6 separate regions of the Homo sapiens genome follow, and all the other regions are linked to region 1. The links are contacts of gene promoters, found by promoter capture Hi-C in blood cells and fetal thymus (Javierre and others, 2016). All regions are on one chromosome and are shown on one strand. Each heading gives the region's core, a stretch centred on a gene start or on the middle of the fragment in contact. The rest is flanking DNA. Distances are from core to core; before and after follow the strand shown. Region 1 holds the start of KIF13A (kinesin family member 13A). Region 2 has its middle 34 kb from the start of MIR548A1HG. Region 3 overlaps LOC102724591 (a long non-coding RNA gene). Region 4 overlaps FAM8A1 (family with sequence similarity 8 member A1). Region 5 overlaps NUP153 (nucleoporin 153). Region 6 has its middle 7.6 kb from the start of NUP153-AS1.

Region 1 (4,694 bases), core at 587-3,086:
GTACAATGTACAATAAACACTACATTCAGTGTTAAACACAACATTTTACATATAGCTTAGCTATTTAATATCACCACCAGAATCTGCTAAAGGTAGCAGAATGTTTGCAAACTGGATAAAAACTGCTATGCTCAACACGAAAAGCAAAGAATCCCCAATCTTATCGCCTCATGATTTCTTTCCCCAAATTTGGCAAAACTGAGCTTGAACACCACACATTATAGAATGGAGGCATTGCTTCTCTAAGCAATAATGTCACAAACCCTGCTTCAGAGTCTCTCTTCAGTGAAAATCTCTGAAGAAGGAAATTCACTAAATTGTATTCCATCGATCAACAGGTGATTCGTGGAAACACAAACTCATATTCATTTCCAATGAAAATTAATATTGTAAACTCTCCCGTTTTTTCACATATATATATTTACAAGCTACTGCATTATTATATTGAATGAATTCCAACCGATTTCTTCTCAGAGGCTTACTAGAAAAATGCCAAATATTCAAATTATTTTGGGGCGTTAACCCATACTGTTGCATGGAACAGAACGGAATTAATAAGGATCCAACAGTTACCACTTTTCAAATGCAAATATGTTGCCATCTAGTAAATACAGCCCCTTTTTAAACATCCCTCAGTGTCTATACAGTTCAGGGCCCTACTTTTGTTTCTTTGAAAATCAAAATTCGCGCATTACATTGAGGCATTATCTCAACTCAGCAACAACAACTAAAATAGATACTAACTAGTCCAGCCTGAGTCTACATCGTACAAGACTTTTGCTTTATTTTTTCCTCCCATTTTAGACACACTGTCCCTAAACAATTCTGCCAAAGGAAACAAACCCTGCAGTGATGAAAAGAATCACGGACACTGGGTTCCACGAACAATAAGGTCGTGGGCTGGTCACCTGCCCGCCTCGGGCCTCAGTTTTCCTGTCTGTAAAATGTGGCCGCTGGACGAATCACCTATGGGGTCCCATCCGGCCCTCTCCCTCCCGGGTGCCTCGCAGCCCGCCCGGGCTCAGCTGACTGGTGCTGTGGCCAGGGTGCCCTGCCTGCCGCCGCTCTAGATGGAGGAGAAGGGGGGCGAGGGAGGAGAGGAACTTGGACTTGCAACAGCTTCAAACAGGAGCCGGCGACAAACTTGAAGCCGTCCTCCTAACAATAGGAAAGAGCACTCCCATTTTCCTGGCTCAAACTTGCGGGACCCCGCGAGGCTGGATCCTCCCAGCCGCCCTCTCGGAACCCGCTTTACCTTTCTCCCTGTTTGGTGTTAGAAGGAGGAGGGTGCAGGACCGTTTGATTCCCTTCCATCTCCACCACGCACTTGGTGTTCAGTTCCAGTTCTGAAAGCAGAGAGAAAGGGACGTTGCAAAGTCCAGCATCCGCGCCTCCAGCCCGCCCGCCCGCCAGCCGCGCCGAGCGGGGCTCCGTCCCTGGAGGCGGCCGAGCCTGGAGACGGCGCCCCGGGCACCACGGCCAGCGCGGACGCCGCCTCCGCCCCGGCCCCCCGGCCCCGGCCGCGCTCTCGCCGTCCCGGCCCCGCAGTTTCTAAAGTTGCCCCCGCCCTCAGCCCGAGCAGAAATAAAAAAGAGCGGAAAGCTCCTCACCTCGTCGGTTCATGGGCCGGACCCGGACGGCAACTTTTACCTTGGTATCCGACATGTTGGCTGCGCTCGCCCGGCCGCTCGCCGCGCCCGCTCGGCCTTAGGCGGCCCCTCACGCGCGGCGCCGCCGCCGCTGCAGCCGCGCGCCCCTCGAGCGCGGCCGCCGCCGCTCCGCCGTGAGCTCCGAGAGGCAGCGCCGAGGCGCGCGGGCCATCCCGGGGGAGCGCGACGCGGGGCACGGCCGCGGCCCGGGGAGGGGCGGGCGCGCGGGGCGGGGCGCGGCGGCGGCGGCGGCGGCGGCGGGCGGGGAGGAGGCCTCGCCGGCGGGCCCAGGCGCAGCTCTAGCCGCGCCGCCCCAGCCGAGACCGCAGCGCCGCGGCCCCTCGCGGCTGCCCGGGGCCCCGCGCCGCCATGTTCCGCGCCCGTCACCCGCCGGGGCTCGGGAGAGGCCGGACACGGCCACGCGCGGCGCCCCCTGGAGCGGCGGGACGGCAGTGAGAGGAGCGGCGAGCAGCGCGGCGCTTAGGGGAGGCTGGAGTCCGGGGCGGGACGCATTGTTTCCCCAGGGGACCTCCCAGGCCAAGCCTGCACCGGCGCCCGCGGGGCCCCCCCCCGGACACCGCCGTGAGCTCGAGCCGCCTTCTGGGGCCGCTGCCACCCGGAGCCCCGGGACGGCAGCAAGGACCACGGCTCGCCGCGCTGGGTGCGCAGGCCTTCCCCTCCGAGTCCCGGCACGCCGCCCCCTCTGTCCCACACGGAGCCTGCAGCGGTATTTTAAGATCTCTGTGGTGAACCGAGACTAGAAATGAATCTGTGAATCCACCACCGAAACAGTGTATGTTTGTAAATAGTGCTCTCCCTTCCTTTCCCGGCCTCTCTTGTCTCGGGAGGGATGTCAAGTGGGCTGGGAGGGCCATTAACTCTTACATAAGAATTTAATAGCAATGGATTCTGTCATCCTGCCAAATGCAGACCTCGCTGCCAGGGCGGAACTGGGCGAATCCGATTTATTCTGTTTGGTTCAACAAGTGCTTAAGGGGCGCTCACCGAGTGCCAGGCATTTTGAAGCGTACAGAAGTCAAAAATCCAGAGTTTAGATCCAGGAATCTTTCGATTTTGCTTAAATCTAGAAATCCACTTATTGGAAGATGCATTGAGGTTTTACTGTGTGCAGGGTGCTGTTGAGGACACACAGAAACATGAATAGCATGATGCAGAGGCACACGCTAAGGTGGAAGAGAGGGCGTGGAGACTTATTATGCTAGACAGTGTACGGCAGGTGCTAGGAGAGGGGTCCGTCCGCCTCCAACCGAGGTGATGCTACGCTTGACCCTCGAACAACACGGGTTTGAACTGCACGAGTCCACTTACACGTGGCTTTTTTTCAACCAAAATCTGATTGAAAATACAGTATTCGTGCTCTGGCACAGTGCCTTACGCCTGTAATCCCAACACTTTGGGAGGCCGAGGCGGGAGGATCACTTGAGGCCAGGAGTTCGAGACCAGCCTGGGCAATGTAAAGAAACCCCATCTTGCCAAACATAAAAATTTAAAAAATAGCCGGGCATGGTGGCAGGTGCCTGTAGTCTTAGTTACTGGAGAGGCTGAGGTGGGAGGATCACTTGAGCCTGGAAGGTTGAGGCTGCAGTGAGCCATGTTCGCACCACTGCACTCCAGCCTAGGCAACAAAGCAAGACCCTGTCTCAAAAAAAAAAAGGGAGAAAAAAGAAAAGACAGTATTTGGCAGGTTCAAAACTGAGAGATCCAACTTTTCCTATTTGTGGGTTCTGCAGAGCTGACTGTGGGACTTGAGTATGCATGGTTTTGGATGTTCCTGGAACCAGTCCCCTGTGTACACTGAAGGACAAATACTTCAGCCCCACCTTATTGTAGAGCCAGCTATCTCAGTCTACCTCTGAAGGGCCTGTTGCATCTTTCCTCCTCTCCATTCCTGCTGCTGCAATCTCACTTTACCTGTCCATTCACTTGTTCAACAAATGTGTTCTGAGCGCCCTACTATGTTACAAACACTGTTGTAGGCTTTAGGCTACAGGCTCTCAGCTGCTGCTCAGAAAGAGGTGAAATTTCCAGCCCTCTGAGGCTAAGAATCTAGGTCTGTGCTTACCTCTTCACTTTTGGGCTGCTGAGACATCCTGTTAACCCTCCTAGCTTTGCCTCCTCTAATCACTCCTAAATCCAGCTTCCAGACTGATTTTTCACAAAATTAAAATTTTATCCTTTAATCGTGCATGGTATTCTATTGTTCAAAAAACTCTCAGGCTGGGCACGGTGGCTCACGCCTGTAATCCCAGCACTTTGGGAGGCCGAGGCTGGCAGATCACCTGAGGTCGGGAGTCCGAGACCAGCCTGACCAACATGGAGAAACCCCGTCTCCACTAAAAATACAAAATTAGCCAGGCGTGATGGCACATGCCTGTAATCCCAGCTACTTGGGAGGCTGAGGCAGGAGAATCGCTTGAACCTGGGAGGCGGAGGTTGCGGTGAGCCAAGATCGCACCGTTGCACTACAGCCTGGGCAACAAGAGCCAAACTCCACCTCAAAAACAAGCAAACAAACAAAAAACCTCTCTGTTTAATATTACCTCCCACCATTCCTGAAATTCTTTATCCAGGACCTTTTCACAAGCAAGATACCATCCCTATGCTAAGCCATTGCTCTGGTAGTTTCTATCAGTGGGAATTGTAGAGGGTTGAATTTGTAACTCCCAAAAAGGTATGTACAAGCCATAACCTCCAGTACCTGTGAATGTGACCTTATTTGGAAACAGGGTCTTGGCAGAAATAAAATTAGGATGAGGCCATACTGGGTTAGGATGGTCCCTAAATCTAATGACTAGTGTCTTTTTTTTTTTTTTTTTTTTTGAGACAGAGTCTCGCTCTGTTGCCCAGGCTGGAGTGCAGTGGCACGATCTCAACTTACTGCAACCTCCACTTCCAGGTTCAAGCGATTCTCCTGCCTCAGCCTCCCAAGTAGCTGGGACTACAGGCATGTGCCGTCATGCCCAGCTAATGTTTGTATTTTTAGTAGAGATGGGGTTTTGCTGTGTTGCCCAGGCTGCTCTCGAA
Region 2 (4,694 bases), core at 1,429-3,928, 500 kb after region 1:
CTGTGATACATAATCTGAAGAATTCATGCTTGTCACATAATCTTATTTTTCCCATAGCAGTGGTAATAATATATTTGAACGTCTACTATGGGCTAAGTACCATTTAAAACATTATTTACCACCACTTATCAGATGCAAGTTATAATCATTCTTTATGGGAAAACTGAGTCTTACAAAGTTTAGACAACTTGATGTGGGCCAAGTTTTGGACCTGGTATAAGTTCTGTGAAGGCAGATATTATAGCTGTTTTGTTCAGTTGGTACCCCTGGGGGCTTGAAGAGGGTCTATCACATAATAGGTGCTCCGTAAACATTTGTTGACTGGATTAATGATTCCCATATCTGAATGTTTTTTACTCCCTCTTTTTCAGTATTTCATATTGAGATTATTTAAGAGTTTGGGCCATGGCTCTCCTAGTTCTCTATAATGGATATTCCAATGGGTTCTGAGAGTAGGAAGATATTAGATGAAGGTAGTAATGTTGAACTGGTGAGCTGGAGGTCCTTGCAGGTGGGAATAGGCTAAGGCTGGCATAATTGTATAGAACTCACAGCAGACCTAGAAAGGTAAGTCATCATTTAGTAAATGGCTTTGTCCTTCCATTTGATAGATTTCACACAGGAATCTTTAACCTAGGAAGTATCGTACCCAAGGGGGTTCATGGGAGGTTCCCAGGAAGCCCACTGATTACTGAAATTGCATGTAAAGTTGTATGGTGATGTATTTTTCTGGGAGGAGGGTACACCATTTCTAGGGGGCTGTGACACTAAAAAGATTAACAGTATTCAATGAGAACACTTATCATTTACCTTCTGCTCGACCATAAAGTGTATTGTTTTGTAATATTGTAGTATTTTTTGTAATTTTGTAATATTGTAGTATTTTTGTGTAATATTGGACTTGACACATTCTTTTTGTTGATTTTTATTAAAAGGAGAAATTTCATTTTGTCCTACACATAGTGAATTTTAAATTATTTTTAGGTATAGTTGACATTTCCGAGCTTAGGCCTGGGGCACTTCTCTTACTGAAAAACCTATGTCACTCAGAAGCCCAGAGAAAATATTAATTAATTTCCAATTTACTTGGAGGCAGGATGAAAATAATAGGTTGGTCTCTCCTTCTGACCACCCAAGATGCCAGCCACCCTGAATGCTTTTTCTTGTCCCTTCATGTTTTGGATCCAAACTAGCTAAATCAGGATCTTTTAGAGGTTTTCTCTAAATAAGCTAGCAAGCATTTACCTGTTTGAAACAAAACCCACAGACCTGCTTGCCTAATTTTGGCAACCAAAACCCTGTGGCTGTGAGCAAGTTTGCCTCCGTTTTGATCCATGATGTGTATGACAATATATTTTTTGGCTGTTCTAAAGCAGACTGCCAATTAGATCCAAATGTGTCAGACAGACTCAGAGAGGGTACTAGTGGCCAAGTTTCCATTAGTGGTTACTACTGATTGATGCCTGCAGCTTTCTGTTCATGTACAAATAGAAACCTATTCTCATCTTTGATCTTGGGGTTGGGAGTTGAGGTAATGAGGAGAAAGTCCCGGAACACAATTAAATCTCTTTGTATCTCTCAACTTGTAACTTTTGTTTTCCATTTAACACAGGAAAGACTCTGAATATTAGGAAGTTGTGATTCTCTTGTTCAGACTAGGGCATGCTTTTCATTTGCTCAGATACAGAAGGATATAGGGAGAAGGAAATAAACCATGTTTATGGAAACACAGCTCTGTGCCTGTAACGGTGTTAGATGCTTTCCCACGTGACCTCATCCAATTCCCTAACAACTCTAGAAAACGAGGATTCATATTCCACATACTCTTAAGGAAACTGCGTTTCAGAGGAGAGGGAGAAAAATACATTCTTCTGTGTTGCGCACATTGTAAGTGGCAAAACAAGTTGAAACAGGCAACTGTTGGCCTCAATGGCCTGTGGTATTTCCACTCCACGGTATAACAATGTAAGTGATTATGGTGTTAATCCTCCTGGTACTGCAAAAGAGCTTTATGAAAACCTTGAATGCACAATGGGAATGGGAACTATTCTGAACAGTTTATTTAGTCTAGAAGCTTACCTGTGAGTCATCATAGACCAATACAAAAAAAATCAGAAACCTAATTTCTAGATTTTAGCCTTTGCATTAATACTTAGAAATAAGCTGGTCTGTCTATCTATCTATCTATCTATCTATCTATCTATCTTAGTCTCTGCCTATAGTTTCTGAAACCAGAATCTTGTTCTGAGAAGTAAACTGTGCAAGGGGAAAGGATGAAGGAGAAAAAAAGCCAAGCGAACCTCTTTTCTTTGTAATGAGTCATATTGCCTGCACTTGGATTTTCACTGACACCAGCTAGGACAGTTTCTGCCCCTCCTCTCTCAAGGAAGACCTTAATGATGGTTCACAGGGCCTGAATCTTATCTGTGGTACCAATTAATTCTGGAAACTAAAAGTGTACTCATTTGAATTTATGTTTAAAATTTTTTTCTTTCTCCCTCCTATACTTATTTTCTAGGGAAGTAATTTGACATTTGGGTCTGCATTACACCAAAGTGAGTGAAAGATACTTTGCTACAGTTTTTCAGGGAAGGGAGGTTTATTTAGCTGTGGTAAATAGCCTAGAACAGAGGTTGGCAAACTTTTTCTGTAAAGTGCTGTATCGTAGGTACTTAAGGCTTTGTAGGCCATACGGTCTTTGTGGTTACAACCCAACTGTGCTGTTGTAGTGTGAAAGCAGCCAGTCAACACATAAATGAGTCAGTACGGTTGTGTTTCAATAAAACTTTATTTATGCAAACAAGAGAGGGGCCACATTTGGCCCCTGAGCTGCGGTTTGCCAAACTTTGGCCTAGAACATATCTCAGGTTTTTCTCTGTGTTTGACACCTACTGCCAAGCACATAGTAAGTGCTCAATAAATAATAAATGTTTTTAAATAACTGCACATGTAAAGGAACAATAGAACTCTTTCCAGACTTTATAACTAGCAACTATGTTATACATTAAGGAATGAGTTGGTAGGAGTAGAGTCAATCTACAGATAGAAGAATAAAGCATGAGAGGTTAGGGCCTCAAGAAGCTGCAGGCAAATTTTCATGTAGAATTCAAGCTCCCTGACTCTAATCAGTGGTGCATTTACTGAGCTCCTTTGGTGCATGCAAGTTTATATTATTTTACCATTTATTTTAAGGAAATCTATGTCTTTCAAAGAGAATAATATTAATTTCTGTTGCATCAGATAAGCTCCTCTGGGTTGCAAGAGATAGAAAACCCAGTTCAAACAAGCTTAAACAATACAGGGAAGTTGTTGGCTGATGAAACAGAAAAGTCTTGATATAGAGTAGGCTCCAGGCAAGCTTGACTCAGGCACCCAAAGTCACCAAGAATCCAGTTCCTTTCTGCCTCCTTGTTCTGCCTATCACTTGGTCATCTTCATTGTCAGATTCCACCCTATGGGGTGCTCCTTAAGGTTTTCTTGCTTGGGATGGTGGAATAGGGAAAATGAACTAAATCCTCCTCAAACTTTTGCTGACCTTGGCCAATTGAAGAAACAGAGCACAGATAAAAAATGGACTAACGTGTCCTGGCTGGTGAGTGGGAAGCCGAATGAAACTGGGCAAGTCAACTGAATATTTGGCAGTCCTGAAGACTGGGAACAGACCAGGGAGTAGATGCATTCTAGGGAGAGGAACATCTTTGGAGGTATGCAAGAGTCCAGCAAGTTTGCTTAGTCCAAAGTTGTTTAGAATCACTGGAGTATAAAGAGTAGGGGGGATGTAAGGATGGATGGACAGGTAGGAGAGGACCAAATCCTGAAGTGACTTGAAGAAATCAGCTTTTATCTCCAAGATAACTAGGGCATTGCTAAAGTTTGAGCAAGGTAGTGACGAGATGAAACTTACGTGTGAGAAAAATTATGTTGATAGTTTTGTGGAAGGAGGTTGAGGGAGAAGTAGGGAGAAAAGCAATGAACCTGATATAATTAACTGGATGTAGCATATGATGGTGGGTATGAACAAGAGAAGAAGAGTAAGAGAGCCATTTAGATAGAATGAACCTGCTGGATATGGGGGAGAGTGAATCAACCAGAATGATGCTGGTCTTCTATTTCAGGAGCTGTGTGCATGGTAAGGCCACAGATCATGACAAATAAATAACATTTCCCTGCATTTCCTTTTGAGGGCACGGACATGGGAATCTGGGGTGTCTTGTTTATTTTTCCAGATATGCTGAATGGGAAGAACCCGAATAAAGGTGACAGTCTCCAGACAGTATTCTAGTTGCTCAAGTCATGGTAGAGTCTATGCAAGGTCTGTAACCAGTTTATACCCATGGTCCATGGGTATACTGATGGTCTGAAGGATAAGTGAAGAGCCCAGGCCAGATAGAATTCAGACGTAGCCCCAGAGGCCCTGGCTACTCAGTCTTTTCAAATACTACTGGGTGGAAACCACTGTGAGGGAAACTTTTCTGTCTAACCTTTTTTGGCTTCTGTTGCTAATGGAACATATTCTAGGCATCAAAGCCATTGTCAGTTCTGAAGGAGAAAAATGCCTCTCTTCGGCTTTTGTAAATATCCTGGCTGGGGGATTCACCATATGCAAATGCCTTAGGCATCCTGGCGGTGAGGGCACAGAACACTGTGTCCATCTGTGACTCAGCCAGGCCCCACAAAGAGCAATCACCAAACCC
Region 3 (4,694 bases), core at 949-3,448, 400 kb before region 1:
TTCTATTGCTGACTGGACCAAAGCCAAACTCAGCCTCCCTCCCTGACCTTTCTGCATGATGTCACCCTTTCTAGCATCTACCCACGGCACTCTCTTGTTGGCTTCCTTCCTCTCGTATGTCACAGTCATTTTCTTCACACACTCGACTTATTTTCAGTTTTTTAATCTCATGCTATCCCTACCCAAAGCAATGCTTTCTCTTGGCCCCAATCTCATATTTCACAAGTAAAATCCAATCCTAATCTAAAATAGTCTTTCCTTTTGCCAGAATATCATGGGCGATGTACTTCTATGAGCATATATCTCAGAGCTGCTCCACAGTCTTCTATTAGTATAAAGCGGAGAAGGCTGAACAGATTACTTTAAGGCCCTCAGCTCTGAAGTTGGGTTTTGGAGCCTGTGGTGTTCTTAGCTTTGGAAATTCCTCCACCTACTGGTTGCCTAAAATCCTGTCTGTTCACATTATATAATGAGGTTCGCAGTTGTTTTATGAGATCGGCCTATTTTTAAGAGTAACACGGGCCTCTTGTGAATGATGACACATTTCTAAGTCATTTCGAATTCCTAAAATAAAATTAAAAATGTGCTATAAAGAAAATATTTTCTTATAATAGAAAATGTTTTCAAGCAGATGACAAATTTCTTAATGCTTTTGAACAACCATTAGGGGGCAGAAAATCATTACACAGTATAGCAATTCAATCCACGTTAGGCTGGAGAAGAGAAAGCCTATTTTATGTGTATTTCCAAAAGTTAGTACCAAAATCAAGTTATTTTTCAGTGTAATCATTGATTTGGTGCTTGGGTATCTTATTTACAAAAGAAGCCTTCCGTAGTGGCTTTATTTTTTACAACTTGCTTCCTATCAGTGTATCAAATCAGATGAACCTTACTCTGAAGGAAACACTTTAGAGACCAATGTGACATCTTGGGGCAGGGTTGCCATATATGACTAGTAAGAATAGTTGAAATATGTTGATAAACTAAAAGTAAGTTTATCTCACTAAAAATTAGAGAAATTCATAACAAAACAATAGATTTATGGCTGCCCAAGTTTCAGGAACTCTCTTTTCAGTCACCCTATCAAACGATGGGTTCAAGCGTGGTTAAAAATAGTTCGCTACTTCTTTAACAGCTTCTCTTCCCCCAAAAAACAACTCCTTAAAGATTAGAATGCAATTATTTCTACTTCTCACTTCCATTCCCCCATCAGCCAGCCTTTCACCTCTCACCCCATGAAACTTCCCAATGAATGCCACCCTTGACTTCCTAATGGCCGAATCCAGGTTCTCTAATTGGAAGGATGATAAACAAGCACTTGCTAATTTAAGTTTAAGAGAAATTTATTAAAAGTATATCACAAGCTGGATACAGTGGCTCACGCCTGTAATCCCAACACTTTGGGAGGCTGAGGTGGGTGGATCGCTTAAGCCCGGGAGGTCGACACCAAACTGGCCAAAATGGAGAAACTCCGTCTCTACAAAAAAAACACACAAAAATATAGCCAGGCATAGTGGCACTTACCTGTAATCCCAGACACTTGAGAGGCTGAGGTGGGAGGATCACCGGAGCCTGGGGAGGTCAAAGTTGCAGTGAGCCATGATCATGCCACTGCACTCCAACCTGGGAAGCAGAGCGAGACCCCATCTCAAAAAATAAAATAATAGGCCAGGCATGGTGGCTCACGCCTGTAATCCCAGCACTTTGTGAGGCCAAGGCGGGCAGATCACGAGGTCAGGAGTTCGAGACCATCCTGGCCAACATGGTGAAACCCATCTCTACTAAAAATACAAAAATTACCCAGACGTTGTGGCAGGCGCCTGTAATCCCAGCTACTTGGGAGGCTGAGGCAGGAGAATCGCTTGAAACTGGAAGGCAGCGGTTGCAGTGAGCAGAGGTTGTGCCACTGCACTTCAGCCTGGGCAACAAGAGTGAAACTCCGCCTCAAAATCAATCAACCAATCACAGCTCCTGAAATTAAAGGAAGCATAGGTAGCAAGAGTTAATCAACACTCTTATCAGATAAGGGCCCTCTGCTGGCACTACATTTATTCCATCCTTGGATCACTTGGCTCAAGTTTCCAAGTCCTCATAAGTCAGTCCAATCTGCTGAGCTCGGGCCACATACCCACCTGGTGGCTTGGAGTGAGCAGTGCAGAATGCCCTGAGAGTCTTAGCACAGGTGCACACATTGGGGGAAGAGTTAAGTGGAAATTCTCTCTCTCCAAAAGAAGGGGGGAAAAAAGAGGTAGTGTGGTCAAAAGAGAAAATGTCCACCACAGTTTTCATCCTTCCTGATTTCTTTGTGGTTTTCACACCAGATGTAACTCCTGTGATGGTTAATTCTATGTGTCAACATGACTGGCCAAGGGGCACCCAGATTAAACGTTGTGTCTGAGTGTGTCTGCGAGGGTGTTTCCAGATGAGGTTAGCATTTGAATTGGTGAATTCAGTAAAGCAGGTTGGCCGCCTCAATGTGTGTGGGCATCATCCAATCTGTTGGGAGCCTGAACAGAACAAGAAGTGGAGGAAGGAGGAATTCTTCCATTTTTTGTTTCCTGCTTGCCTGCTTGAGCTGGTACATTGGTCTTCTGACCTTGGACTGGGAATCACACCCATATATATACACATATACATACACATGCACACCCATATATATATATATACATACGCACACCCATATATTTACACATATACATATGCACACCCATATATATACACATATACATACACACGCACACCCATATATATACACATACGCACACCCATATATATACACATATACATACACACCCATATATACACATACACACGCACACCCATATATATACACATACACGCACACCCATATATATACACATACACGCACACCCATATATATACACATACGCACACCTATATATACACATATACATACACGCACACCCATATATATACACATATACATACACACGCACACCCATATATACACATATACATACACACGCACACCCATATATACACACACACGCACACTCATATACACACACATACACACGCACACCCATATATATACGTATATACATACACACGCACACCCATATATATACACATATACATACACATGCACACCCATATATATACATATACACACTCGCACACCCATATATATACACATATACATACGCACACCCATATATACACATATACATACACTCGCACACCCATATATACACACATATACATACACACGCACACCCATATATATACACACATACACACGCACACCCATATATATACACATATACATACACGCACACCCATATACACACACACACACACACACACACACTGTATTGGTTCTGGTTCTCTGGAAAACCCTAACATGACTCCTTTCTTATGGAAAGTCTCTCTTCCCACTCAATCCTACTTTCCTACCGACCTCACTAACTATTCCTTCTCCATCTCTGTTTTTTTTTCTCTGTTCTTGGCTTTCTTTTCTTGTTTCATTGTTTTCCATCTACTTGTCATTTCAAGGGCCATCTGTATGCCTATGACTCTCTCAATCTGTATTCTTTTTTATTTTAAAACTTTTTTTGCTTTTGCTTTTTTTCTCTTCTTTATTTCTGAATGATCAATCTGTATCTTTACAGATGCAACATATTCAACAGCTGGTGTCCCTTGGATGGCCCACCAGCACCCCACTGCCCCACTTCCACCCTCTTGCTCTCCCTTCCTCTGCCTTCTTCATTTCCATGAACGGCATCACAATCCACTCACCCAGTCATCCAAGCCACAGACTCTCTCCAAATACATTCAGTCATCAAATTCTGCAGACTGAGGCATGGTGAGGCAGTTCACCCCTGTAATTCCAGCATTTTGGAAGGCTGAGGTGGGTGGGTCGCTTGAGCCTAGGACTTTGAGACCAGCCTGGGCAAAATAGGGAGACCCTGACTCTTAAAAAAAAGAAAACAGTCTGCAGATTGTGCTTCCTTAATTTCACTCAAATGTCTCCTCTCCTTTATATTCCCATTGCTATTGTCTTGCTTCAAGTTCTCTTCATCTTATCTAGGGTGTAGTCTCCCAACCGGAGTCCACATCTTCAATTTTACACCATTTCAATCCATCTTCCACACTGTTCCCAGAGAGAGATTTCTGAAAAAACAAATATGACCAGATTTATCTCCCTCGTTAAAGCCCTTTATAACTTCTGCTGTCTACAGGATAAAGTGCAAACTCCCTCACATGGGACCAAAGCCCTATATAAACCAACCCCTCCCTACTTTTCCAGATTTGTCTCTATTCAGATCTACCTCACACCGTAAGTATCAGCTTGGCTATTTCCGTGAACTTTGCCCATGTTGCCCTTCCCCTGAAATCGGCTTCCCTCCGATGTTCTCTCTGTCTCTCTTTTTTTTTTTTAAATTAGAGATGGGGTCTTGCTCTGTCACCCAGGCCGGAGTGTAGTGGTGTGACCATAGCTCACTGTAACTTCAGACTCCTGGGTTCAAGCAATCCACCTGCCTCTGCTTCTCAAGTAGCTAGGACTACAGCTGTGTACCACTCCACTAGCTAATTTGTTAAAAAATTTTCATAGAGATGGGGTCATGCTATGTTGCCCTGACTAGTCTCTAGCTCCTGGGCTCAAGCAATCTTCCTGCCTCAGCCTCCCAAAGCTCTGGAATTACAGGTGTGAGCCACCACACCTAGCCATC
Region 4 (4,694 bases), core at 689-3,188, 380 kb before region 1:
TTTGCAGAAGGGTTTTAATTTCTACTGTTTAATGATCTTGTTTTATTACATTCTGTTTGTCTACACGTGACTATATGGATAATGGGCTTGTCAGTGTCATGATTTCTTTATAAGAGCTTTGTTAGATTTATTGTTTTCTTGTTGATTTTAAGAAATAACTAGAAAGGAAAAAAAATAGCTTACTGAATTCTATAAGATGTGTGGGAATCTCACCTATCAAAAATAGGTAAAAAGAGCCTCCAAACCTGCTTTGATTTTATTCACCTATTCTTTTAGGCCAGGAACTAATTTACCTCTCACTATCCTGTTCCCTCTTGCTATCTTGTGGAGTCTCTAAAGACAAAGGTATAAAGAGCTTTTGGTAGGTGAATTAATAATCAACTAGATGGCATTTCCAAATGGGATTGCACATACTGTGGGGCAAGTCCCAAGTGAACTTCAAAGTGAGACGTTTATTTGAGTAATCCTTCCAGATTAACAATAATCATAATAGCAGTTACCACTTCCTGAGTACTTTCTATATGCCATGTATTGAGCTTGCTCACTTCTTTATGTGGATTCTTATTTAATCTTAATACCAAGATGAGGTGTAGAGATTAATACCACCATTTTATAGAGTTTGAAATTTGGGTTTATGAAAAGTTGAGCACAGAACCTAAAATGTTACAAAGGTAGTAAGTGACAGAGTCAAGATACAAGCCTGTGCAGTCAAATTTCAGGGTCCTTGCCAGAAACCTGTTACTGTGATTCCTCCCTGTCCCTCCCTCTCACTCCACTCCACATCCAGTGAAATACCAACTCCTTTATGTTCAATTTTCTGAATAGCTTTCAACCCCAGACCTCCTCACTGCCAGATCATTTTTCTTTTTTTGAGACAGAGTCTTGCTCTGTCACCCAGGCTGGAGTGCAGTAGTACAATTATGGCTCACTGCAGCCTTGATCTCCTGTGCCCAAGTGACACTCCCACCTCAGCCTCACAAGGAGCTGGGACCACAGGCATGCTCCACCATGCCTAGCTAATTAAAAAAAAAAATTGTTTTTTGTAGAGATGGGGTCTCCCTATGTTGCCCAGGCTGGTCTCAAACTCCTGGGCTCAAATGATCCTCCTGCCTTAGCTTCCCAAAGTGCTGAGATTACAAGCATGAGCCACCACACCTGGCCCATTTTTTATCATCATTGCTTCTCCCTACTCCGATTACTGTCGTCTCTTGCTTGGATTATAGCAGAAGCCTTCTAGTGGTAACTCAGTCTCCTGTTTTATCTCAATCCAGTCTCTGATATAAAACCAAAGTGATCATAAATCCTGGTTCTGTTCCTTTCCTACCTTAAAACCCTTCAATGGTTTCTCTTTTTAAAATGTTTATTGTTTTTTTAGAGATGGGGTCTGTGTTGCCCAGGTTGCTTTCAAAATCCTAGGCTCAGGCGATCCTCCCACCTCAGCCTCCCAAAGTGCTGGGATTACATGCGTGAGCCACCATGCTCAGCCCCTTCAATGGTTTCTCTTTACCAGCAGGATAAAGTCTGAATTTCATCATGTGGTTTATACTCAGGAGGCTGTCTCAACCTCCCAAGTAGGTGGGACTGCAGGTGCATACCACCACACCCTGCCTTTATTTCTTAATCACTGCCACCTCTCACATTTAGTATATGAGCCACACCAAACTGCTTACAGCTTCTATCATATTCTCTCTTTCTCCAAGACATTCTCTCCTGCTGTTCCCTCTTTCTGGAACGTTATTTCCTCTTCTTAGTCTGGCTAACTTCTCTTCATCCTTCAGAGCCTCATCTAACTGTCTTTTCTGGGAAACCTTCACAAGGTTAAGTGTATCTGGTGTATGTTTCCATAGTATCCTAGGTTCCCCATCACAGCACTCATCCCACTTTATTATTGCTATTTATTTATTGTTCTGTTTTCTTTGCTAGGTTAGACCCTCCACGAAAGCAGGGACCGTGTAAATTCATTCACCCTTATTTCCCCCGTGCTAGTACAGTGTCTGCTCATGATAATGCTGCTTATTTGTTGAATAAACTAATGAATGCTTTATGATACTAGATGGTTGGGAATCTAAAGATTAGTTTAGAATTTCAATTAAAATGTATGACTTGCACTAATGAAAAAAAAGTCAGTGCTACTGTTCTGGTAACTAATTATTTATAACCCCAAACTATTATTTTGTGTAGGGATATCTCTAAGTTTGCTATGCATTATATAATAGAAGAAATAGATGAAGACACATCAATGGAAGACTTGCAGAAAATGATGGTTGTGGCACTTATATACAGATTATTAGTTTGTTTCTATGAGGTAAGCTACTGACTTCAGCAAGAATTAATATTTAACAATCTAATTTTATGTTTTTACATTTATTTTTTTGAGACAGAGTCTCGCTCTGTCACCCAGGCTGGAGTGCAGTGGTGTGATCTTGGCTCACTGCAACCTCTGCCTCCTGAGTTCAAGTGATTCTCCTGTCTCAGCCTCCTGAGTAGGTGGGACTACAGGTGCATACCACCACACCTGGCTAATTTTTGTATTTTTAGTAGAGACAGGGTTTTGCCATGTAGGCCAGGCTGGTCTCAAACTCCTGGCCTCAGTGATCTGCCCACCTTGGCCTCCCAAAGTGCTGGGATTACAGGCATGAGCCACTGCACCTAGCCAACAATCTAATTTTAGATTATCAGCCCAAGACGAAAAAGTAATCGAAATTTATAATTATTCATGTCTTTTCCACATGTCTACTTTTCTGTTTTTTTTCCCAAATTTTAACTAATCATTAAGTAAAAACTTTTGGAAGAGAGACATTTTACAATTTCTTTGTAATATTTTTCAGTCTTAGAAACTCAAATAAAATTTCACTTATAGATTGTGGTCCAAAAATATACTTGTAAATTGCAATGTAGTTTTCTGCAGAAGCAGCTTACTAGAAAGTATAGTAGTCATAGAGAAATATTACAGGAGACAGACATCTTGTGGTATTGGACATGTTAGAGACCTACAGAAATGCATAAAGTTAAATGGTTAACTTTTGAGTATTCTATGCAATTCTTTCAACTTGAAAAATTTAAAACATGAAATAATATGGTGGGAAAAGTTTATCTTTAAAATTGGTATAGTTGAGCCAGTAATTTTTAAATCATCCTTCTTTCCTTAGATAATTTGCATTTGGGGAGCAGGTGGAGCTACCCCAGGGAAGTTCCTGCTGGGGCTTCGAGTTGTGACATGTGATACATCAGTGCTTATTGCACCAAGTCGGGTTTTAGTGATTCCTTCCTCAAATGTTAGCATTACAACGTAAGTCCTTTTCTTAGCTTAATCTACTACATACTTAATGAAAATAATGTGTTTTAGAATATTGGGGTTTTTTTCTTCATAGTAGATAGGCTTATATTTATTAAGTTAAAACAAAGTTTGAATATTTATTTCAGTTGTGTTACATGATTGTAGACCTCTTTTACAGTACACATTTTCAAGATGATTTTTTTTTTTTTTTTTTTGTGAGACGGAGTCTCACTCTGTTGCCCAGGCTGGAGTGCAGTGGCACAGTCTCGGCTCACTGCAGGCTCCGCCTCCCAGGTTCACGCCATTCTCCTGCCTCAGCCTCCCGAGTAGGTGGGACTACAGGTGCCCGCCACCACGCCCGGCTAATTTTTTGTATTTTTAGTAGGGACGGGGTTTCACCGTGTTAACCAGGATGGTCTTGATCTCCTGACCTCATGATCCACCCGCCTCCGCCTCTCAAAGTGTTGGGATTACAGACGTGAGCCACCATGCCCTGCCTCAAGATGATCATTTTATGAATTATAAGTCACAATACGAGAGGATGATTTGGGTGTTGATGGTGTATTAGTGCTCCACAATCAGCTTTATTATTCTTTGGACCTGTGGATGTTAGGTCAGGTACTAGTCTGCCTTGAGTCTCCATTTGGCCATGCCTGTCATTATTCCATCTTGAATAGGCAGCAGAGTTTTGACAGCTATGCATTCGTGCATCCTTCTCCTGCTGTTAGGTGAGAGCTTGTAATACTGCCAGTATTCAAGGTTAGCTGTTGGCATCTAGCGCTGGGGGAAGGTACAACCAGTGATAATGGAAACTGTGGAGGTCAGTGGCTGGTAGTCAGTTGAGCCAAACAAGGTATTGGCTGCAATTTTTGCCAGAATGATTCAGAGCTGGATTGTTACATCAAGAAATATAAACAAGTGATTCTAGAAACCTTGGTTTTGCCATCTTCAAATTTTTCTTAAAATTTGGTAGTTATAGCCGGGCACAGTGGCTCACGCCTGTAATCCCAGCACTTTGTGAGGCTGAGGTGGGCAGATCACGAGGTCAGGAGATCGAGACCATCCTGGCTAACATGGTGAAACCCCGTCTCTACTAAAAATACAAAAAATTAGCCGGGCGTGGTGGCGGGCCCTGTAGTCCCAGCTACTCAGGAGGCTGAGGCAGGAGAATGGCATGAACCCGGGAGGCAGAGCTTGCAGTGAGCTGAGATTGCACCACTGCACTCCAACCTGGGCGACAGAGCAAGACTCCATCTCAAAAAAAAAAAAAAACAAAACAAAACTGGTAGTTATAAACCTACCTACTTCTTTTAATAAGAGTCAGTAATGGCTAATGTTTATTGAGTACTTTTTATATACCTGCACTGTTAATAACACTGCATATGTATTAATTTAATGCTAACAACCTCATAAGATA
Region 5 (4,694 bases), core at 845-3,344, 290 kb before region 1:
TGCCACTGCACTCCAGCCTGTAATCCCAGCACTCCCAAAGTGCACCACCACCGCGCCTGGCCTAATACTTCTCTAGTAGAAATTTGCATGGCCTCTTTACTTTTTCAGGTCTTTGCTTATATAATAGGACACCCATCTCATTTTGCTTCCCAGCTTTATTTTTTATTAAAACTTTTTTTCTATATTTTTTTCAAAATTGGGTATCCCATTCCACCTACTTTATTGATAGCACTGAATCACCATATTATATGTTTATGCGTTACATATTATGTTTACTTGTTTCCTTGTCTTCCTAACTTAGAACATAAGCTCCAAGAAGGCAGGAACTTGTTCACTGCTGTATCCTCTGTATTTAATGCTTGACATGTGGTATGTGATCAGCAAGTATTGATTGAATGAAGAATAGTAATGTTTGCCTTTACCTCCATGAGTTAGTATAGATTCTAAAATATTCACCAGGATAAAGACCCTTTTCTGGTCCATTTATGTACTGTTTTACAGAGATGAAGGTTGGGATAAAGAAATAAAGGATAGGAGCTGGGCCCGGTGGCTCACGCCTGTAATCCCAGCACTTCCGGAGGCCGACGCGGGCGGATTACCTGAGGTCAAGAGTTCAAGACCAGCCTGGCCAACATGGTGAAACCCTGTCTCTACAGAAATACAAAATTCAGCTGGGCATGATGGTGATGCCTGTAATCCTAGCTACTCAGGAGGCTGAGGGGGAAGAATCGCTTGAACCTGGGAGGCGGAGGTTGCAGTGAGCCAAGATCGCGCCATTGCACTCCAGCCTGGGTGACAGAGCAAGACTCCGTCTCACAAAAAAGAAAAGAAAAGAAAAAGAAATAAAGGATGGGGCTGGGGCCACGGTGGCTTACTCCTATAAGCCCAGCGCTTTGGGAGGCTGAAGAGGGAGAATCACGAGGTCAGAAGTTCAAGACCAGCCTGGCCAACATAGTGAAACCCCGTCTCTACTAAAAATAAAAAAAAAGTAGCCGGGCATGGTGGTGGGCACCTGTAGACCCAGCTACTTGGAAGGCTGAGGTAGGAGAATCGCTTGAACCCAGGACGCAGAGGTTGCAGTGAGCAGAGTTCACGCCACTGCACTCCAGCCTGAGCAACAAAGCGAGACTCTGTCTCAAGGAAAAAAAAAAAGAGAGAGTGGGAAGTACTATGGACTGAACGAACAAAAAGGTGCTAAGACCCAAATACAGGCGTGTCCTTGGATCATGCAATTCAAAGCTTCTGGTAACCTTATCAATAAATGCTAAATCTAGTAAAACTTAAAATAGCTTTAAATCTCACAAAATTCCCTTTAAATTGTGTGCATACCCATGTGTGACAATCTGTGTAATCTTTAGTTCTGTAGTTTATATATCTAGTCACTTATAAAAGGACTAAAACAGTGGTTCTCAAAGTGTAGTTCTCAGATCAGCAGCATTGGTGTAGCCTATGAGCTCATTAGAAAGGCAAATTTATTTTAATAAGCTCTTGAATTTGATTCTTCTGCAAATTAATGTTTGAGAACCACTATACTGAAACCATCAAAAACTCAGTGACCTGTTATTCTAATTAAGGCCTTGGTATACATAACCATGATTATAAGCTTAACTACAATAGAATTTTACCTAAAAGACCACCATTTTAATTAGTATCTTATTGTCTACCAAACACATATTTATAAACATATTTTTAATATCAACTCTGAAAAATCAATGAGAAGTTAACATAAAAGCCGACCTTCGAGTTGATTTCCACCGTTAAAGACTTACACAGAATATGTGTTTATGATGCACAGCCAACTATAAGACATTAGAAATTTTTAAAAAACTACTACGGAAAAGAAATATGCACAGTATTGGAAAGGAGACTATCAAGAGTTAACAGGGGGCTGGGCACGGTGGCTCACGCCTGTAATCCCAACACTTTAGGAGGCCAAGGTGGGCGGATCATGAGGTCAGGAGATCGAGACCATCCTGGCTAACACGGTGAAACCCTGTCTCTACTAAAAATACAAAAAATTAGCTGGACATGGTGGCGGGCACCTGTAGTCCCAGCTTCTCAGGAGGCTGAGGCAGGAGAATGGCGTGAACCCGGAAGGCGGAGCTTGCAGTGAGCTGAGATTGCACCACTGCACTCCAGCCTGGGTGACAGAGTGAGACTCCGTCTCAAAAAAAAAAACAGAAAAAGAAAATACTGGAACAATTTTTTGAAAATAAAATGAAGTTGATGTTCCAGTTGATCGTGCCATTGCACTCCAGCCTGGGTGACAAGAGTGAAACTGTCTCAAAACAAACAAACCAACCAACCCCAAAAAAGTTAAGGGACCCTGCCTACCAAACAGATCTGGAGAGGTACCTCCTTGACTGGCAGTTTTTTAAAAGAGTTTTGAAGTACTAAAGACTTCAGCCACTAACAAATAAGAGTAAAAAGAGTCTGACAAGAGGAAAAACGGTTTTCTTATGGAAGAAAAGGTTCCTTTGACCTTACTACCAAGGAAGGCCCAATGTAACCCACCTATGTTTTGAGGAGTTCTTGAGAGAAGAGTTCTTCAGGTCTTTACAGGAAATAAGCAGGCATGAGGGAAATAAGCTTTCTGTATGGACCTGAAAAGTGCTTTAAGATTTAAAAACAAGGCCAGGCACGGTGGCTCACGCCTGTAATCCCAGTACTTTGAGAGGCCGAGGCGGGTGGATCACAAGGTCAGGAGATCGAGACCATCCTGGCTAACACGGTGAAACCCCGTCTCTATTAAAAATATAAAAAATTAGCTGGGTGTGGTGGTGGATGCCTGTAGTCCCAGCTCCTCGGGAGGCTGAGGCAGGAGAATGGCGTGAACCCGGCAGGCGGAGCTTGCAGTGAGCCAAGATGGCGCCACTGCACTCCAACCTGGGCCACAGAGCAAGACTCCATCTCAAAAAAATAAAACAAATAAATAAAATCTTAAAAAACAGCCAGGTGCAGTAGCTTACGTCTGTAATCCCAGCACATTGGGAGGCCGAGGTGGGCAGATCACTTGAGGTCAGGAGTTTGAGACCAGCCTGACCAACATGGTGAAATACCATTTCTACTAAAACTACAAAAATTAGCTGGCAGGTGGTGTCCGCCTGTAATCCCAGCTACCCAGGAGGCTGAGGCAGGAGAATCACTTGAACCTGGGAGACGGAGGTTGCAGTGAGCCCAGATCACACCACTGCACTCCAGCCTGGGCTACAGAGCAAGACTCCGTCTCAAAAAAAAAAAAATTAATCTTAAAAAATACTCTGTGGCCCTAAAGCAAAGTCCACACTTCATAATCATAAATAATAAATTTAAGTTCAAGGATTAAAGGAGTGAATTTTAGAATGTGAACTGGCTAAATCCACTGGGTATTCTCTCTCCAAGAAAGAAGGGTTCTTCATTTGGCAAAACATGTCAAAAATGCCACTGAGATTTAGACTAATTAAAAATTCAATCTGGGGATTAGAATTCAATACTACATACATATCAGGAACATTCAACGTATAAGGTATTGTGAATACATTAGCTTTTCAAATTATATTTAACCTGAGTTGAAGGATTAATGAGCTGGGCGCAGTGGCTCATGCCTGTAATCCCAGCACTTTGGGAGGCTGAGGCAGACAGGTCACCTGAGGTCAGGAGTTCAAGACAAGCCTGGCCAACATGGCGAAACCCTGTCTCCATTAAAAAATGCAAAAATTAGCCAGGCGTGGTGGCAGGCACCTGTAATCCCAGCTACTTGAGAGGCTGAGGGAGGGAGAATTGCTTGAACCCAGGAGGCAGAGGTTGCAGTGAGCCGAGATCACATCACTGCACTCCAGCCTGGGCGACTGAGCGAGACTCCATCTCAAAAAAAAGGATTAATGAAAGGCAGCTGGGGTGGGGGCAGGCTACTCTATAACACTAACTCAGAAACAGCTGGGGTGGGGGAAGGCTATTCTATAACACTAACTCAGAAACAGCTGGGGTGGGGGAAGGCTATTCTATAACACTAACTCAGAACTCACTTGTAATTAACGACATTCTTTTCTTATAAACCTTTTCACAGGAATAACCAGAGGCATCTTTTCAGTATGGCCAACTCCTTGTCATTCCTATATATCCTTCCTTCCTTCTATACAAAGCTCTTTTCTTCCTACTAGTTTTCTTGACTTCAGTTCTGTTCAACTCCCTTTTCTTCACATTATCCTTAGCAGTGTTCAGATTATAAAATCTCCTTTCTCAAATAGTTTCACTGGATCTTTAACTATAAATATCAAATGCAGTCCATCATCAGTTTTAAGGTTCTGGAATCTTATTCTCCCAGGGAGCAGGTTTTTAATTCTTCAGCTAGAAAAGTACTTTAAATGGCTAGAGGACTTGGACTGATTGGATAGGGTAAACTTCGCTGCTGAATGGCATAGGCTTATAAAATACAACCAATAATGTCTTAGATTTGGATGTTAAATTCAGATTATTGAAACTAGATTCAGGTCCAAGCACCGTGGCTCACGCCTGTAATCTCAGTGCTTTGGAGGCCAAGGCAGGGGTTCTGCTTCAGTCCAGGAGTTGGAGACCAGCCTGGGGAATATGGCGAAACCCTGTCTCTACCGAAAAAATACAAAAATTAGCTGGGAGCAGCCGGGCGTGGTGGCTCACGCCTGTAACCCCAGCACTTTGGGAGGCCGAGGTGGGCGGATCACAAGGTCAGGAGATTG
Region 6 (4,694 bases), core at 783-3,282, 270 kb before region 1:
ACCGTCTCTACTAAAAATACAAAAAAAAAAAATTAGCCGGGCGCGGTGGTGGGCGCCTGTAATCCCAGCTACTCGGGAGGCTGAGGCAGGAGAATGGCATGAACCTGGGAGGCGGAGCTTTCAGTGAGCGGAGATCATGCCACTGCACTCCAGCCTGGGCGACAGAGCGAGACTCCATCTCAAAAAAAAAGAAAAAAGAAAAAAAAGAAATCAATTGGTTTAGTTTTATTTATTAACATAATTCATCAGTTACATTACGAAACTGGACTTATTAAGGTTGCAGTCTGTAAAACTATAACCTTTGCAAACCTTAGTTTGCTAATACTAAGCTTCTTTATTTTTTAAAAGCATTTGTAGAGAATGCTCAAGTTTATCAGACCCTAACTTATTAAGGCATTCCTTTTCAAAAGCATGCAAACCAGTTAACATGCAAACAACCCTCACATACATATCACCCCACCACCATCAGACAAGCATGAACTACCCAGTTTAAACAAACAGTGACTTTTGGCCTCTTGCTGCTACTCTGACCAGCAAGCACCAGCTGCAGCCCCCGGGAGCTTGTTAGAATAAAGCAGCTCTGCCCATCCCAAGCCAACACAATCAGAATCTACATTTTAACAAGATCACCAGGTGAACTGTATTACATTCTAGGAGCATTGTTTCAAAACCATGCCACCAGAAGTTATTAATCTGAAGTTAGATTAACTTTGAAGGCAAGACAATGAGGTACCTGAAGTTCCCGTAAAGAGCAGGCTTAGGAACTTCTGTTCCTTACTAATCTACAACAATCAACAATTTAAGAATTGATGAACCAACAGCTTATACAACATGTAGTTTTTTTTCCTCTTCTTTATCATTCTGTACCTTTCTCCTTTACCACAAAGTGAGCAGAAATGGAATGAACCATTTTTTAATTATTCTTTCATTAACTTTTTTTTTCCAAAGGAAAAAGGTAATCTAGCAGAAGTTATTAACATCTGAAATGTTAAGGGTCTAAAACTGAGCATTAGTTATGAAATATACTTAAGCATAGATATTTCAAGAACCCCTTGCTAATTCCCATGTATCCTTTTCTTATACAAATTTTCTTTTAGTCACTGCTGGTTGTTTGGTTGGTTGCAAAAGAAAAAGAAAAATTTTATTTTAGAACTAATTCATGAAAAAAAAAAATGGATGTAAAGTAAACCCTAATCCAAGAAGCTATGAGCAGAGATAAATTCCTAAAAGAAATATCAGGCTACTTTCTTAGAATTGCGATGACTTTTCTCATTCCGTTGTAGTCACAAAATCATTTTTAAGGTAGAAAAGCAAGCGGGCACTCTAGGAGGGAATATTCTTAGGCTTGGATTGGCATCTAATATATCTGGAATGCTAGATGAGAATTCAGGCAACTTGGAATAAACTGTAATTTTTCTAAACTGTAAAGGCAGGAATGGTAGCAGCTTTCTACTTGACAAATCATAAAAACAATTAGATTACCTACCTCTAGTAGCTTGACCTCTTTTTTTTTTTTTTTTTTTCAGACGGAGTCTGCCTCTGTCGTCCAGGCTGGAGTGCTGGAGTGCAGTGGCACGATCTCGGCTCACTGCAAGCTCCGCCTCCCGGGTTCACGCCATTCTTCTGCCTCAGCCTCCCGAGTAGCTGGGACTACAGGTGCCCGCCACTATGGCTGGCTAATTTTTTGTATTTTTTTTTTTTTAGTAGAGACGGGGTTTCACTGTGTTAGCCAGGATGGTCTCGATCTCCTGACCTCGTGATCCGCCTGCCTTGGCCTCCCAGAGTGCTGGGATTACAGGCGTGAGCCACCGTGCCCGGCCATAGCTTGACCTCTTAAATAGCTGCTATGAAGCTAAGACAATAATTGGACATAGTATTTTCTCCAAACATTACTTCTGGAAAAGTTCAATTTGATAACAATAATGGATATGTTAGTCTAAAAGTTTCCAGAAGAAGTCATCACAACATGCCTATTGTTCTTAACTCCTGCAATAGAGAAGGCCTAAAAAGCTGTGCAATACAAAAGGTGAAAAATCATATTTAAAAACTTACATACATCACCCCTTGTGTAGGCCAAATAGAAGCATGTTTGCTCATGTGAACAGTTAAACATCAAGGGCAGATAATGAGGTCACTGAAGTTCCTGTAAAGAGCAGGCTTAGGAATTTCTGTTCCTTGCTCATCTACAACAACCAACAATTTAAGTAAGAATTGATGAGCCAGCAGCTTATTGATCATGTAGATTTTTTTTTTCCTTTTACCATTCAGTAACTTTCACTTTTACCACAAAGTGAGCAGAAATGAGATGAACCATTTTTTAATTGTTATTTTCATTAGCTTCTATTTCCAAAGGAAGCTAGGCTACTAGCTGAAATGAAAATCTGGATTTAGCACATCCTTATTCTGTATCATCACAGGTAGCAGAGTTGATTTAACAGAGCAATTACACAAGCATAATGGTTAGTTAAGATGATTTTAAGCCAATATCTATAATCCATGGCCAGTGGCCTCAATGTAGCTTACCTTGTTTGGATCCATTATAATGACAGTAGGATATCATGAGCTACCAAAAGTAGGCTTCTTTAAAACCAAAAAAAAAAAAAAAAAAAAAAACCCAATAAAAAGAACTCTTCAAATATTCTCCAAAGCAAAGATGAGTGAGGTTATATCATTCTACATTTAGTATTAAAAAGGCAGTATCACCAAACAAATTGAAGGCAACTTTGCAGACGTTGAGCAAAACCTACTTAAACAACCACCCCCAACTACAGAAAACTCTCCCCCTCTCCCCATGAAGGTGTAGCTTCCACTATGTACCCATACAATGTGTAGAATAAAAGCATCAAAGCAGACCATAGGCCTCCAAGAAGGCCACAACCAAGCAACAAAGAGCATCAACTAGCCACAGTTAAACCCAAGCCATAACTTAAATGCTTTCAATTAGTAACAGTTACATTTTCTTTTTCACTTGTTTGGTCATAAAATCTTGCCCCTTCAATGAGTCAGCAGTGACTCATAAGCACTTCCTACAAGAAGCACCCGCTTTTAGGCCCATCCCTTCCAGCCGAAGTGCTGAGACCCAGGATTGATTTTAGCTTCATCCTTGCTGATGCTTGAGTTTAATCACTTGTCTCTCTCATACTGGATATCCATGTTGGCCAGCAGTTACTCTGCAAAGTAGTGGTCTGCTGCTGTGCAGTGAGGAGGCAAATCCACAAAGGGGCACCAGGAGTAGTAGACAATTGGGAAGGAAATGCCATTTTTCTCTCTTCGCTCTTGTCCACTATAGCTCTGCCTCTTTGACTCCTCATCATAAGGTCCCAGCCTTTACAACTATGCCTCCTCCTGTACCAGCAGAGTCTCCTCTCAAGGTTTGGTTTTGGTTTACAAACAAAGAGGAACTGACTTTTTGCCTACACCACTAACTTTAGAACACGGTCCTTTGAAAAGTATCCAAAACTGAGGTCGGGAGTTCGAGACCAGCCAGACCAACATGGAGAAACCTCGTCTCTGCTAAAAATACCAAATTAGCCGGGTGTGGTGGCATATGCCTGTAATCACAGCTACTCGGGAGGTTGAGGCAGGAGAATTCCTTGAACCCAGGAGGCGGAGGTTGTGGTAAGCTGAGATCGCACCAATTGCACTCCAACCTGGGCAAAAAGAGCAAAACTCTGTCTCAAAAAAAAAAAGAAAATCCAAAACTGAGATGGAGGGGAAAAAACGCGACAGTTCTGAGAAGCTTTCTGCCTTAATTTCTTTCTTTCTTTCTTTCTTCTTTATTATTATTATTATTTTTTTTTGAGATCGTGTCTTGCTCTGTTGCCCGGGCTAGAGTGCAGTGGTGAGATCTCCGCTCACTGCAACCTCCGCCTCCATAGTTCAAGTGATTCTCCTGCCTCAGCCTCCCAAGTAGCTGGGACTACAGGCACCTGCCACCAAACCCGGCTAATTTTTATATTTTTTAGTAGGAATTGGGATATCCTAATTTCAAGTTAATGAAAAGAACAAGAAAAGTGCAGTGGTTAGTTTTACATGAGATCCAAACAAAACAGGTCAGATCACTTGTTTCAATTTCTCCAGCAATTTTCCACTGAAAACTTCCTATATATGGAAGGAATATAGAAAAAGAAAAGAGGAAATGTTTAAGGAGTGATGTCAGACAAAAGAGAAGGAGGCTGAGACGAGCAAGCAGGGAGGGCAAATTTTAAATTCTGGCAAATAGTCACTGCTAGACATGTCTGAAAATACCATCAAAAATTCTGCCAGGTTCACGGCCAACCTGAACTCACCCTTGGTGTATTTTCCCTCTATAAGGCAGTCTTTTGGGTCCAGATTGGCTCCTTGTTGACCTAAATTCAAAAGCTGTAAAAAAACGAACAAAGGATGAGTGATACCTTGCAGAAATGGTGTTACCGAAACCCAGAGTGTCACTTACTGGCGTCATAAATAATGAAGGACTAATAAATAATACATGGAAAAGAAAAGACCCTCGTCATTGTCACTTCATGTTTTCCTCACATTTTGTATCCATAAAGCCAGGCACAAATTGAATGAATATTTATTGAAAGGATGAATGGACATTTATAGGAGGTTTCACAATTCCTTATTTCCCTCAACAACTTTTATGTTATGCAAATGTTTTCTGTGTTTGAAAAAAAATACTTTAAAATGAAACTTGTTAAAACAATCTTTTA

What was found. Contacts are between HindIII fragments. The CHiCAGO score rates a contact against its expected background, and 5 or more counts as called.
Region 2: a fragment that was not itself captured here is called in contact with the fragment with the promoter of KIF13A in region 1 in 1 of 17 cell types (monocytes); the score reaches 5.3 in monocytes.
Region 3: a contact is called between a fragment that was not itself captured here and the fragment with the promoter of KIF13A in region 1, in 1 of 17 cell types (neutrophils). The highest score is 6.7, in neutrophils.
Region 4: a contact is called between a fragment that was not itself captured here and the fragment with the promoter of KIF13A in region 1, in 2 of 17 cell types (neutrophils and monocytes). The highest score is 7.7, in neutrophils.
Region 5: a fragment that was not itself captured here is called in contact with the fragment with the promoter of KIF13A in region 1 in 2 of 17 cell types (neutrophils and naive B cells); the score reaches 5.4 in neutrophils.
Region 6: a fragment that was not itself captured here is called in contact with the fragment with the promoter of KIF13A in region 1 in 2 of 17 cell types (monocytes and neutrophils); the score reaches 6.0 in monocytes.

What each region holds. Positions count from the first base shown.
Region 1 is chr6:17,985,799-17,990,492 of GRCh38, forward strand. It overlaps KIF13A (kinesin family member 13A), which reads right to left and starts at 1,837. Exons shown (of 39, transcript NM_022113.6): 1 at 1,611-1,837; 2 at 1,256-1,346. The coding sequence starts at 1,665. RefSeq lists silencers at 1,423-1,542, 1,913-2,412. The HindIII fragment of the contact is 11,131 bases long and covers 1-4,694 here.
Region 2 is chr6:18,486,752-18,491,445 of GRCh38, forward strand. No RefSeq gene overlaps it. Among named protein-coding and RNA genes, the nearest start is that of MIR548A1HG, 34 kb to the right of the region's middle. The HindIII fragment of the contact is 1,213 bases long and covers 2,073-3,285 here.
Region 3 is chr6:17,583,917-17,588,610 of GRCh38, forward strand. LOC102724591 (a long non-coding RNA gene) reads right to left here. Exons shown (of 5, transcript XR_007059485.1): 4 at 3,760-4,134; 5 at 1,875-1,971. Among named protein-coding and RNA genes, the nearest start is that of FAM8A1, 14 kb to the right of the region's middle. The HindIII fragment of the contact is 9,051 bases long and covers 1-4,694 here.
Region 4 is chr6:17,602,725-17,607,418 of GRCh38, forward strand. FAM8A1 (family with sequence similarity 8 member A1) reads left to right here. Exons shown (of 5, transcript NM_016255.3): 3 at 2,182-2,305; 4 at 3,150-3,289. Among named protein-coding and RNA genes, the nearest start is that of FAM8A1, 4.8 kb to the left of the region's middle. The HindIII fragment of the contact is 6,133 bases long and covers 1-4,694 here.
Region 5 is chr6:17,693,842-17,698,535 of GRCh38, forward strand. The region is part of intron 1 of NUP153 (nucleoporin 153); the gene reads right to left. Among named protein-coding and RNA genes, the nearest start is that of NUP153, 11 kb to the right of the region's middle. The HindIII fragment of the contact is 986 bases long and covers 1,602-2,587 here.
Region 6 is chr6:17,712,258-17,716,951 of GRCh38, forward strand. No RefSeq gene overlaps it. Among named protein-coding and RNA genes, the nearest start is that of NUP153-AS1, 7.6 kb to the left of the region's middle. The HindIII fragment of the contact is 3,410 bases long and covers 328-3,737 here.